Regions from separate parts of the Homo sapiens genome. Here all the other regions are linked to region 3. Evidence: promoter capture Hi-C in human tissues and cell types (Jung and others, 2019). All regions are on one chromosome and are shown on one strand. The core of a region is centred on a gene start or on the middle of the fragment in contact, and the rest is flanking DNA. Distances in the headings are between cores, read along the strand shown.

Region 1 (3,843 bases), core at 323-2,822, 71 kb before region 3:
TTTAGGGAAATGCTGGCAGTTCAGCCCTACTGAAGGGTAGGCATGACATGGGGCACGCTGGGAGATGATGCTGCATGGGCTGGCATGGTAGACTGTGAACAGCCTTATCTGCCAAGCTAAGTGCTTAAGGGTTTACTCAAGCGCCATGTGGAGCCACTGCTAAATTTCGAGCTGGTGAATGACACATCAGCTTTTGGATTTGGAAGGTTGTACCAGCCACAGGGTGAAAGGTAGATTGCGGGGAAAGGGTCCGATATTGAAACATCTGATGCCAAATAGGGAGGCTTGCTGCTGAAAATGAGTTTAGGATTGCAGAAGAGAATAAAGGCATCTCAGAGTCATAAAGAAACTTGAGGTTGTGAAAGGGAGCTGCTACCGATTATCTTTGAAGAATCAGAGAAAATGAAAGATGTATAAGAGACAGAGACAGAGAAAGACAGAGACAGATTAGAAAATGTTGTCGTCATCGTGAGGAACAGAAAAAGAAAGGGAGAATTCTGTAATGGCATTTGCAGCAACCTGAATAGGATTGGACACTATTATTCTAAGTGAAGTAACTCAGGAATGGAAAACCGAACATCATATGTTCTGACTCATAAGTGGGAGCTAAGCTATACGGATGCAAAGGCATAAGAATGATACAATGGATTTTGGGGACTTAGCAGGGGAAAGGTGGGAAGTGGGTGAGGGATAAAAGGCTACACATTAGGTACAACGTACACTGCACCAAAATCTCACAAGTCACCTCTAAAGAACTTACTCACGTAACCAAATACTACCTGTTCCCCAAAAATCTATGAAAATAAAAATTTAAAAACAATTTTTTTAAGTGGAATTTTTTAAAGTACATGTCTGAGTCCACCAGTCCCCTGGCAACATTCTCTATACATTATTAAAAGACAGTTTGTGAATGCTAAGGGAAAGATCCAGGAACCACCAGCAGCCAATAGGGATCAATGGATTCACTGACTAAAGAGGTAATAGAAGAACAGCCACAATAGCAGCATATCTGAATTTGAGCAAGTCTTGCTATATAGTTTCATGATGATGTAAAAAATACGAATGATAACACAGATAGATGGATTCATTACTGGCTTCATAACCTCACCCAAAGGGTGTTGAGTAGCTTCATCTGTAGGGACATTGCTCCTAAAATGCCAGAGAACCCTGCCTTTGGTCCTTTATAGCATGATTGTGGTAAAATATATGCAATATAAAATTTACGATTGTAAGTATTTTTTTAATTCCAACTTTTATGTTAGATACAGGTGCAGGTTTGTTATATGGGTATATTGCATCCAGGTAGTGAGCACAGTACTCAATAGGAGGTTTTTCAATCCTCACCCTTCCCTCTCTCCCCACTGAGAGTCCACAATGTCTATTGCTCCCATGTTTATGTCTACTTGTGCTCAGTGTTTAGCTCCTACTTGTAAGAGAGAACATATGGTATTTGGTTTTCCATTCCTACATTAATTTGCTTAGGATTATGGCCTCCAGCTCCATCCATGTTGCTGCAAAGGACATGACTTCATTCTTTTTTACGGCTGCATAGTATTTCATGGTTTATATGTAGAACATTTTCTTTATCCAATCTACCATCAATGGGCACCTAGGTTGATTCCATGTCTTTGCTATTGTGAATAGTGGGGTGATGAACACATGTGAGTACATGTGTCTTGTTGGTATAATGAGCTATTTTCCTTTGGGAATATACCCAGTAATGAGATCACTGGGTCAAATGGTGGCTCTGTTTTAAGTTCTTTGAGAAATCTCCAAACTGCTTTCTATAGTGGTTGAACTAATTTACGCTCCCACCAACAATGTGTAAGTGTTCCCTTCTCTCCACAGCCTCGCCAGCATCTGTTGTTTTTTGGCTTTTCAATAGTGGCCATTCTGACTGGTGCGAGATGGTATCTTGTTAAGGTTTTGATTTGCATTTCCCTCATAATCAGTGATAATGAGCATTATCTTTGATATGTGTGTTGACCATTTGTACGTCTTCTTTTGAGAAGTGTCTGTTCATGTCCTTTGCCTGTTTTTAAATGGGGTTATTTGGTTTTGGCTTGTTGATTTGTTTAAGTTCCTTATAGACTCTGGATATTAGACCTTTGACAGATGCATAGTCTGCAAATATTTTCTCCCATTCTGTAGGTTGTGTGTGTACAGTTTTGTGCGTACAGTTCTAAGTATACAGTTCAGTGACATTAAGTACATTCACAATGTTGTGCAACCATCCCCACCATCCATTCACAGAACTTTTTCGTCTTCCTAAACTGAAACTCCATACCCAATAAACACTAACTCCCCGCCACTTCTCCCCCCAGCCTCTGGTAACCTCTAATCTACTTTCTGTTTCTATGAGTTTACTCTAGCTACCTCATTTGGGTGGAATCACACAGTATTTATCCTTTTGTGTCTGGCTTACTTCACTTAGCATAATGTCTTCAAGGTTCATGCATATCGTAGCATGTGTTTGAACCTCATTCCTTTTTAAGGATCAATAATATTCAATTGAATGTATATACACATTTTGTTTATCCATTTATCCATTAATGGACATTTGGGTTAGTTTGACCTTTTGGTGTAGCATGCTGTTTTTTATTAATAGTTTTCAGCAGGGCTTAGGAGGCAAGCTTACTCCACAACAGAAGGGATAAAGAACATCTATGTAACAGTGAAGATTCACAAAGTTCAAATGTGGATGAGACTCAAAATTGTTCTTCCATATCTATTCTCCTTCCTTCTATGGGGATATAACTTTTAGGAATTTTAGATCACGTTTCCCAGACTCTTGTAACTAAGTATGACCATATGACTACATTCTGGCTACTGGAATATGAATAGACATTGATAAGTGCAATTTCCAAGTCATGCTTTTAGAAGGAAGAGGCATGCACTTCCCTTCCCCCTTTCCCCTTCTTGCTAGCTGGAATGCAGATGCGATGGCAATTGCTAGAGCAGCCATTATGGACCATGAGATGAGAGCTACATGTTGAAGAAGGCAGAGCAATGACACAAAAGGAACCTTGGTTCCCAACCTATAAAGCTGTCATGTGAAGTCTGGATCACTTATGCCCAGCTTGCTACCTGAGACAGAAATAAACCTCTATCTTGTTTAAGCCACTATTATTTTGGGTCTCTCCAATCCAACAGAGAAACCAGTAGACCAACTAATATTTCAGTGAATGCTGAGTTACCTAATAAGAGAAATGATGTTTTTGTTTTTCTGTTACTATGCCATTTAGTTACAGCTGGTGGATTTCCCCTGAATTTGTAGAATATGGTTTATGGTCTGACTTAAAGACCACACGGTATACCCAAAATTTCCTTGATAGAGACACCTCATAAAAGGTGAAGTCATCCTACAGACATGACTTCTGGAGCACAGGTTTTCTACATGGAGTCCCCACCTCTGTGTGTCCTACTCTAGGGAGAGCAGCAGGGATTGAGCTATTTAAAGGCCAGACACTCATTGGAGCAAACTGGGCTGGCCAGTTAGTATTGAAGCGACTTAAGTCGAGAGAGTAATATTTTTATAAATGAATTAGGGGTAATCTCTTACTGGTCAATAAAGTACCATGAGAATAAATTATGGGCATTATTACAAAATTTTTTCTCCTTAAACAAGGTCAGATATTTTAGTGAAAAATAACATTTTCACCTCCATCTACTGAGCAGATCTTCGGAGTAACACAGCCAACGAGAAGTAAGCCTGCAGCTTTGAAAATGCAGGAAAGGTAGGGGGAGGAGGGGAGATGGGACCCTCTGAGGCCACTGAGCTCTGGACCCAAGTTGCAACTGTGGCCGTTATCATATGATTACCATGGCTGCAACCCAATCCCT
Region 2 (3,928 bases), core at 1,383-3,882, 110 kb after region 3:
TGCCCATTTGATGAATGACTGGTGGTCTCAGCCTCTGTTTCAATACTCTGTCCGCGCAGGAGTTAGACCATGTCACTTTGGCCTCTGAAAGGCTAGATTCCTGGGTGGTTTCTCCAGAGCACTCATCCAGTCCCTCGTCACCTGGCCGTGGCCTGAGCACCTTCTCCTCTACCCATCACACTCACACTCTGGGCTCATTCTCCTGTCACTCTGTCCACTAACAAGCCATGTACTTTCATGAACATTACACGTTTCCACCTCCAAACCTTTGTTCCTGCTGTTCCGCCTGCCAGGAATGTCCTCACTCCTGACATCCTGGAAAACTCCTATGCATCTCACACTAGCTTTGAACCTTCTACCCAGCGCACACCTTGTACATCCGTCTTCTCTAGCAGGGACCTACTCCCTTTCTCATGCCTACTCCTTTGCTAGAATATGAACTTTTCACGTGCAGCTGCCACACCCTGTTCATCTTTGTGCCCTTTAATCCTAGCACTGTGTCTGGCATGAGGCTGTCCTGGATGTTTAATAAATCAGCAAGGAAAAGAATGACACGTCCGGCCAGGCGCAGTGGCTCACGCCTGTAACCCCACCACTTTGGGGGGCTGAGGCAGGCGGATCACCTGAGGTTGGGAGTTCAAGACCAGCCTGACCAACATGGAGAAACCCTGTCTCAACTAAAAACACAAAATTAGCCAGGTGCAGTGACACATGCCTGTAATCCCAGTTACTCAGGAGGCTGAGGCAGGAGATTCACTTGAACCCAGGAGGTGGAGATTGTGGTGAGCCCAGATTGCACCATTGCACTCTAGCCTGGGCAACAAGAGAGAAACTCTGTTTCAAAAAAGAAAAAGAATGACACGTCCACACTGATAATACCAAATTCCCTTTAACTGAGGGTCAAAATGAGCTGAGTGTGGCCCAGCCTGACTCCAGGAATATCTGAAATGCTGTTGGTTAAGCATTCTGGCCAAAACCTTCCACGGACTGTAGACGCTCACAACCTGGGATGAGGTCTCCTCCCCTCCACCTTAACGGCTGACCACACCTTCACCCAGTGCGAGCCACCGAGAGCCCTGCCAGCTTCTAAGCCTGGGCAACTATCTAGTCCTTCTCCTTTCCCTGTCAGGGATCTCTGACACTGCATGTTGCCAGCTGCTCCTGGGGGAGTCTGACGGATGCCACCACCGCCTTGGTCTGTTAAGAATCTACTGGAGGCCTCAGGGAAAGCAGCTCCAGGCTTCCGGAGAGGTAGTTTGGCTGTGGTTCTCACTCACAGGACCTGTTGTGCCAAGACCAGGAGGTCAGGTGCTCGCCTAAGGGCTTGCCGAGGAAGGATCTGGGCAGCCCAGCAGGAGCAGGGCCATCTCTCCTCCTTGCTCCCAGGCGACTTGCTGTGTTTGAGCTGGGGCCTTAGGTTTACTCAGCAGGTGGTGTCTACACCTGTAACGACCATGCAGGGCTGGGAGCCAGGGCGCATGCTTAATTCTTGTCCTGGCTGGAAAGCAAGTTGGCCGTGGTCTTCCATTCTGTGCAGGGACCTTCTCATTGAATTTTTTTTTTTTTTTTTTTTGAGACAGAGTCTTGCTCTGTCGCCAGGCTGGAGTGTAGTGGCACAATCTCGGCTCACTGCAACCTCCACCTCCCGGGTTCAAGCGATTCTCCTGCCTCAGCCTCTTGAGTAGCTGAGATTACAGGTGCGCACCACCATGCCCAGCTAATTTTTTTTTTTTTTTTTTTTGTATTTTAGTAGAGACAGGGTTTCACCATGTTGGCCAGGATGGTCTTGATTTCCTAACCTTGTGATTTGCCTGCCTTGGCCTCCCAAAGTGCTGAGATTACAGGCATGAGCCACTGGGCCTAGCCTTTTTTTTTTTTTTTTTTTTTTTGAGACAGAGTCTCACTCTGTCTCCCGGGCTGAAGTGCAGTGATGTGATCTCAGCTCACTGCAACCTCTGCCTCCCGAGTTCAAGCAATTCTCCTGCCTCAGCCTCCCAAGTAGCTGGGATTACAGGCACCTGCCACTATGCACAGCTAATTTTTTGTATTTTTAGTAGAGACGAGGTTTCACCATGTTGGCCGGCTGGTCTTGAACTCCTGACCTTGTGATCTGCCCGCCTCAGCCTCCCAAAGTGCTGGGATTACAGGCATGAGCCACCACACCTGGCCCTCATTGAATGTTTAAAAGCCCCACTCATCTCATAAACAGGATTCCCTTAGAATATGTTTGCCAGGACCCCTTTGTTCCTGGGGCCAATAACAGCTGTCCTCTTTCCCCCAGATGACTGATTTCTTGCCAACCCCTCTTAGTGATAACTGGGTGCTCACCCTCTCTCCCCCCAGAGCACTCCCTCCGGTTTCTGTGCCCGGCTGGGGTTGCAGCTGCCTCTCTCTGGACCTCACTGGAAAATCAGGGATTGACTAGATTGGGAGCATGGTCCTTGTATATTAGAATCACCTGGAACTTTAACAGAACTACTCACGTCAGGGCCTCTCTCCACACTAATTAATCAGAGTCTCTGGGGTGGGGACCACACTTTTTAAAAAGCTTTCCAAGTAAGTCTAACATGCAGCCGGGGCAGAGAACCATGAGAATAGACAGTCTTTCTGCTCTGGGCGGCCCTGAGCTTTCAGGGGTTCCAAATGTTCAGGGCCCAGATGCTGGCTGCTCATTGCCCTGTGGGACCCTTCTAGGTGCGAAGTGAACATGCAGAGACAGTCAGTGCATCACAGAGCCCGCTGAGTTTAAGCCTCAGGCCTGGGGTCTTTCCATGGCTGTTGTTTTCTAGGTATTTGCAGACTGGAAATGAACCTACCAGGACTTCTCAATAAAGCGTCTTCCTCCTGCCCTGCTTTTGGTTCTGGGTCCTGAGAAAGGTGAGAAAGCTTATTCCAGAACTCAATAGTCTTGTTTGGGAGGCCTGTCCCTGAGTTCCAGACCCAGGGGGTGCTGCCTCCTGAATGGACACCCCCATTGTCATGCAGCTGACACCTCCAACCCCCATACCCAGACCAAATTCTCCGAGTGCTGTACCTGGACACGGGTGTCCCCATCCACACCGAGGGCCCGGTAAGGCACATTGTCCCCCAGCCCCTGATGCTCCCGGCCCATCCTCCCTTCTCTACCCCATTCCTTTGTCTTTGCTCACCTTGCCAGTTCTTCCCATCTCCTGTCTGGGCTGCCCTTTACTGGCTACAGGAGGGTCACTGTTCTGCTGGAAAGTGTCTGAGAGCAGCTGCCACCTGGGTCTGAATGTGTCCCCCAGACCCAACACCTCTTTGCACAGTCCTGAACCTGTGTCTGGCTCTTGCTTCCCCTGCAGCCATCCTGCCAACCAGACCACACTAACGTTGTTCTCATGCACGGCTTCCTCTGGCCTCTGAGCCTTTGGACGTCCTTCCCCCTATTCTCGGGTTGTCTCCTGTTCCCAGCAATAGTTCATTCGCCACTGTCGGGGTCAACCACTTAGTCCTCTTGACCATGAGACTCTCCTAAGTTCTGAATGCAGAGGATTGGCTGAGATCCACGCTTCTTGGAGCCCATTGGCTTCCCCTTGAATTGTCACGATGGCCCAGCACTGTTGGGTTCAGCTGGTGTGTGGAGCCTCTGCTTTTTCTGTAGAGACTGGACTCTTACTTCTTCTAAGCTGTTGTCTCATCTCCAGGTTGAGGTTCTAGGGCTCCCTGGAGTAGGCCTGGTGGGGCACTTGTCCTTAGAGCCCTTTCCTGGCAATCTGTTCTGGCTTCCAGCATTCCAGGGCATTGGAAGGGGCATTTAGGAGACCAGGGTTCTAGCCCTGAGTCCACCATTCACTCCCTGAGCTCCTCTTCACACATGTCGACTGAGCACAGCCCATACTCAGAGGGCAGCATGAACACTGCCACCCCAAACGTGTCTGTGTGCGCACGCTCACTCATACATGTGTGC
Region 3 (3,631 bases), core at 445-2,944:
TGACCTCACTTTTAATTTGTTATTGTGTCATATTTTATGTACCCTTGTAAGTTACCTGAAATCCTTTCTGCCACAAGGTGAGGTAAGGCATAAATAAACAGTGCAGAGTGTGGTAAACGGCACAAGAAGGCACAGCTAAATTGCTACCCCGGGGTAAGAAGATGAATCCAGGCTGTCCTGCAATGGAATGGATTTATTTTCTTGAGCTGTGGTGAGCTCCCATCCCTGGAAGAGCTGGCTTGGGTGGCCGTCTCTCTGGGAGGCTGGGGAAGGCCTTCTTCCAAGGAGACGGAGCTGGGCCAGACGAGCCCCGAGGCCCCTTCTTAGATTCTCAGGGTTTATGAAAATGCCAATAAGACAAACTGAGGCACTTAATGGAGCTAATGCAGCAAGGCAGCCCTTGGGCCGGAACCAGGACCTGGGGCTTTTCATCCGGGTCTATTACTGGACCACACATCTACAAGTAACAAATAAACGAGCAGAGATTCCGTTCCAAACTCTCGGCCCAGTGTATTCCTTTCCCAGAGCTCTCTGGCTGCTGTTGCAAGATGACCAAAGGATGCTGTCACTGTCCTCAGTCTTTTTATTGGGGCGATGGAGAATGAGGCAAGGAGGGGCTGGGTGGCCCCGCAGATGCCCCATGACACCATCATTCGGCAAGGTTATGCATTTGACGAATGCCCTGCAGTGGAAGGAGCCCAGGCTTCTCTTCCTGTTTTTGATGTTTACTTGGGGGTTGATCTTGTGCGAGTTTCTTCAGCTCCCGGGACCCTCAGTTTCCTCATCTGCAAAATGGAGTTAATACAACAGCAAAGCTGCTGTGGAGGTCCCATGAGCTATTACAGGGCTTTGCACCCTTAAAAATGCGGTTGAGGAAGTACCGATACGCCTGCCTCAGGGGATCTGGGGAGGGCTGGGCTGTCCCCATGCCTGAGACCAGGCAGGCCCGTCTTGGAGGGGCGGTGGCCAGCGTCCAGGTGCTGCCAGCTTCCTACCCCTTCAGCCTCCTGCCCACCACTGCTCCCTTGGCTAGAACGAAGCCGCGTTCCCGACAGACAGGCTCACGCACGGTGATATCCGTGGGAGTGCGGGCGAGCAGCCCCTCCTCGCCGGACCCCGGGGGCTTCGGGCAAAAATGGAGAGCAGGCAGAGGTCACATCCTCCTCCTCTTCCTCACGCTCCCGGGCTGCGTGCCCACAGGGGCACAGCCCTGTGCGCGGTGCCACCGGGGGCCATCAGGCTGGGTTAGAGGAAGGCCCGACCTCCGCGCAGCAAAGAAAACAAACACAGATGTGTTTGGCTGGGACCGGGAGGGAGAAAGTGGCCCCCTTCCCCCGCCCGCGCGCTCCCCCGGGCGTGAGGCTCTCCGGGCGGCGCGGGGCGCGGGCGAGGCTGACAGTCCCCGGCGGCCCCTCCTCCCCCACGGGGTGCGCGCCTGGCCCGGCCCAGCCCCCTCTCCGGGGTTTCCCCGGGTGCTCTCCTCGCTTTCTCTTTGTCTCTGCTGTTCTTTCTCGGGCTCCCGGGTTCCCACCCGCCTGTGCTCTCCCTCTCGGGCGTCCGGGCCGGTTCCCTTTAACTTTCTTCTTTCCCGGGGTGAAAACTTTGCTCGGAGCTGGCGGCAGCTCGCGGACGTTATTGGCCGGCGCCCCGCCCGGCGGCCCCGCCCCCCGCCCCCGCGCTCCCCTCCGCCCCTCACTCCCAGCGCGAGTGGCGGCGGCGGCGGAGCCTTCGGGGGCGAGCGCGCGTGTGTGTGAGTGCGCGCCGGCCAGCGTGAGTGTGTGTGCGCCCCGGGCGCGGGCAGGGCAGCACTCCGAGCTCGGCGGGAGCGGCGGGAGCCGGGCGGCCGCGTAGTCACTCGGGCGAGAGAGGCGGCGGCGGGGCCGGGACCGGGGCTGGGGCTGGGGCAGCGGCGGCCGCGCCGGGCATGGAGCTGGCAAGCCCGCGCTGAGGCGGGACGCGCCTGCTAGCAGCGAGCGAGAGGCTCTCCGGCGACCGGCGCGCGGGCTCCCCGGAGGGGCCAGGCAAACTTTTCTTTCTCTTTTGCCCCCTCCAGAGGTAAAGTCCCGAACGCGGACTTTCCGGCGGGGACGCGATCGGGGGGCATCTGAGAGGGACCCCGGGCTGCGAGACGAAGGGGCGCGGGCCGTGCAGAGTCGGGGTCCCCCAGCTCTCCTGCGCCCGAAACTTGGGGTGCGAGGGGGGCTGGTCGCGGACGGGGAGACCGGCTCAGGCATGCCCCTCGGGCGGCGTGGGGGCGGCGGTGGCGGGGAAGCAGAGCGTTCTCCCGCCGGGCGGGGAAGAAGGGGCGCGAGCGGTGCGGACTTGGAGGGCCCCGGCTTCGCCGCCCGCGGGACTTTGGGGGAGAGAGGCGGGCAGTCGGCTGCGGGGTGGGTGCCCAGGAAGCCGGGCGTTCTCCCGCATCTCCGCTCGCCACCCCGCCGAGAGCTGGAGGGCGCGGGGCGGGCTGGCTGAGCGCAGCTCCCTTCTCTCCGCAGGCGCCTTCTGCGGCAGGCGGACAGATCCTCGGCGCGGCAGGGCCGGGGCAAGCTGGACGCAGCATGATGCGCGCAGTGTGGGAGGCGCTGGCGGCGCTGGCGGCGGTGGCGTGCCTGGTGGGCGCGGTGCGCGGCGGGCCCGGGCTCAGCATGTTCGCGGGCCAGGCGGCGCAGCCCGATCCCTGCTCGGACGAGAACGGCCACCCGCGCCGCTGCATCCCGGACTTTGTCAATGCGGCCTTCGGCAAGGACGTGCGCGTGTCCAGCACCTGCGGCCGGCCCCCGGCGCGCTACTGCGTGGTGAGCGAGCGCGGCGAGGAGCGGCTGCGCTCGTGCCACCTCTGCAACGCGTCCGACCCCAAGAAGGCGCACCCGCCCGCCTTCCTCACCGACCTCAACAACCCGCACAACCTGACGTGCTGGCAGTCCGAGAACTACCTGCAGTTCCCGCACAACGTCACGCTCACACTGTCCCTCGGCAAGAAGTTCGAAGTGACCTACGTGAGCCTGCAGTTCTGCTCGCCGCGGCCCGAGTCCATGGCCATCTACAAGTCCATGGACTACGGGCGCACGTGGGTGCCCTTCCAGTTCTACTCCACGCAGTGCCGCAAGATGTACAACCGGCCGCACCGCGCGCCCATCACCAAGCAGAACGAGCAGGAGGCCGTGTGCACCGACTCGCACACCGACATGCGCCCGCTCTCGGGCGGCCTCATCGCCTTCAGCACGCTGGACGGGCGGCCCTCGGCGCACGACTTCGACAACTCGCCCGTGCTGCAGGACTGGGTCACGGCCACAGACATCCGCGTGGCCTTCAGCCGCCTGCACACGTTCGGCGACGAGAACGAGGACGACTCGGAGCTGGCGCGCGACTCGTACTTCTACGCGGTGTCCGACCTGCAGGTGGGCGGCCGGTGCAAGTGCAACGGCCACGCGGCCCGCTGCGTGCGCGACCGCGACGACAGCCTGGTGTGCGACTGCAGGCACAACACGGCCGGCCCGGAGTGCGACCGCTGCAAGCCCTTCCACTACGACCGGCCCTGGCAGCGCGCCACAGCCCGCGAAGCCAACGAGTGCGTGGGTGAGTGGGGTGCGGCGGCGGAGCCGGCGGCGGGTGGGGCCGCGGGCGGGAGCTG

The links. Contacts are between HindIII fragments. The study calls those that stand out against the background at their distance.
Region 1: a contact is called between a fragment that was not itself captured here and the fragment with the promoter of NTN1 in region 3, in 2 of the 25 tissues and cell types used here (heart left ventricle and neural progenitor cells).
Region 2: a contact is called between a fragment that was not itself captured here and the fragment with the promoter of NTN1 in region 3, in 2 of the 25 tissues and cell types used here (heart right ventricle and mesendoderm cells).

What each region holds. Positions count from the first base shown.
Region 1 is chr17:8,949,099-8,952,941 of GRCh38, forward strand. All of the region lies in intron 1 of PIK3R5 (phosphoinositide-3-kinase regulatory subunit 5), which reads right to left. Among named protein-coding and RNA genes, the nearest start is that of PIK3R5, 15 kb to the right of the region's middle. The HindIII fragment of the contact is 5,738 bases long and covers 1-3,843 here.
Region 2 is chr17:9,132,034-9,135,961 of GRCh38, forward strand. The region is part of intron 2 of NTN1 (netrin 1); the gene reads left to right. Among named protein-coding and RNA genes, the nearest start is that of NTN1, 110 kb to the left of the region's middle. The HindIII fragment of the contact is 5,202 bases long and covers 32-3,928 here.
Region 3 is chr17:9,019,816-9,023,446 of GRCh38, forward strand. NTN1 (netrin 1) reads left to right here and starts at 1,695. Exons shown (of 7, transcript NM_004822.3): 1 at 1,695-1,770; 2 at 2,496-3,576. The coding sequence starts at 2,559. RefSeq lists silencers at 1,057-1,106, 1,157-1,946 and an enhancer at 1,093-1,636. The HindIII fragment of the contact is 11,312 bases long and covers 1-3,631 here.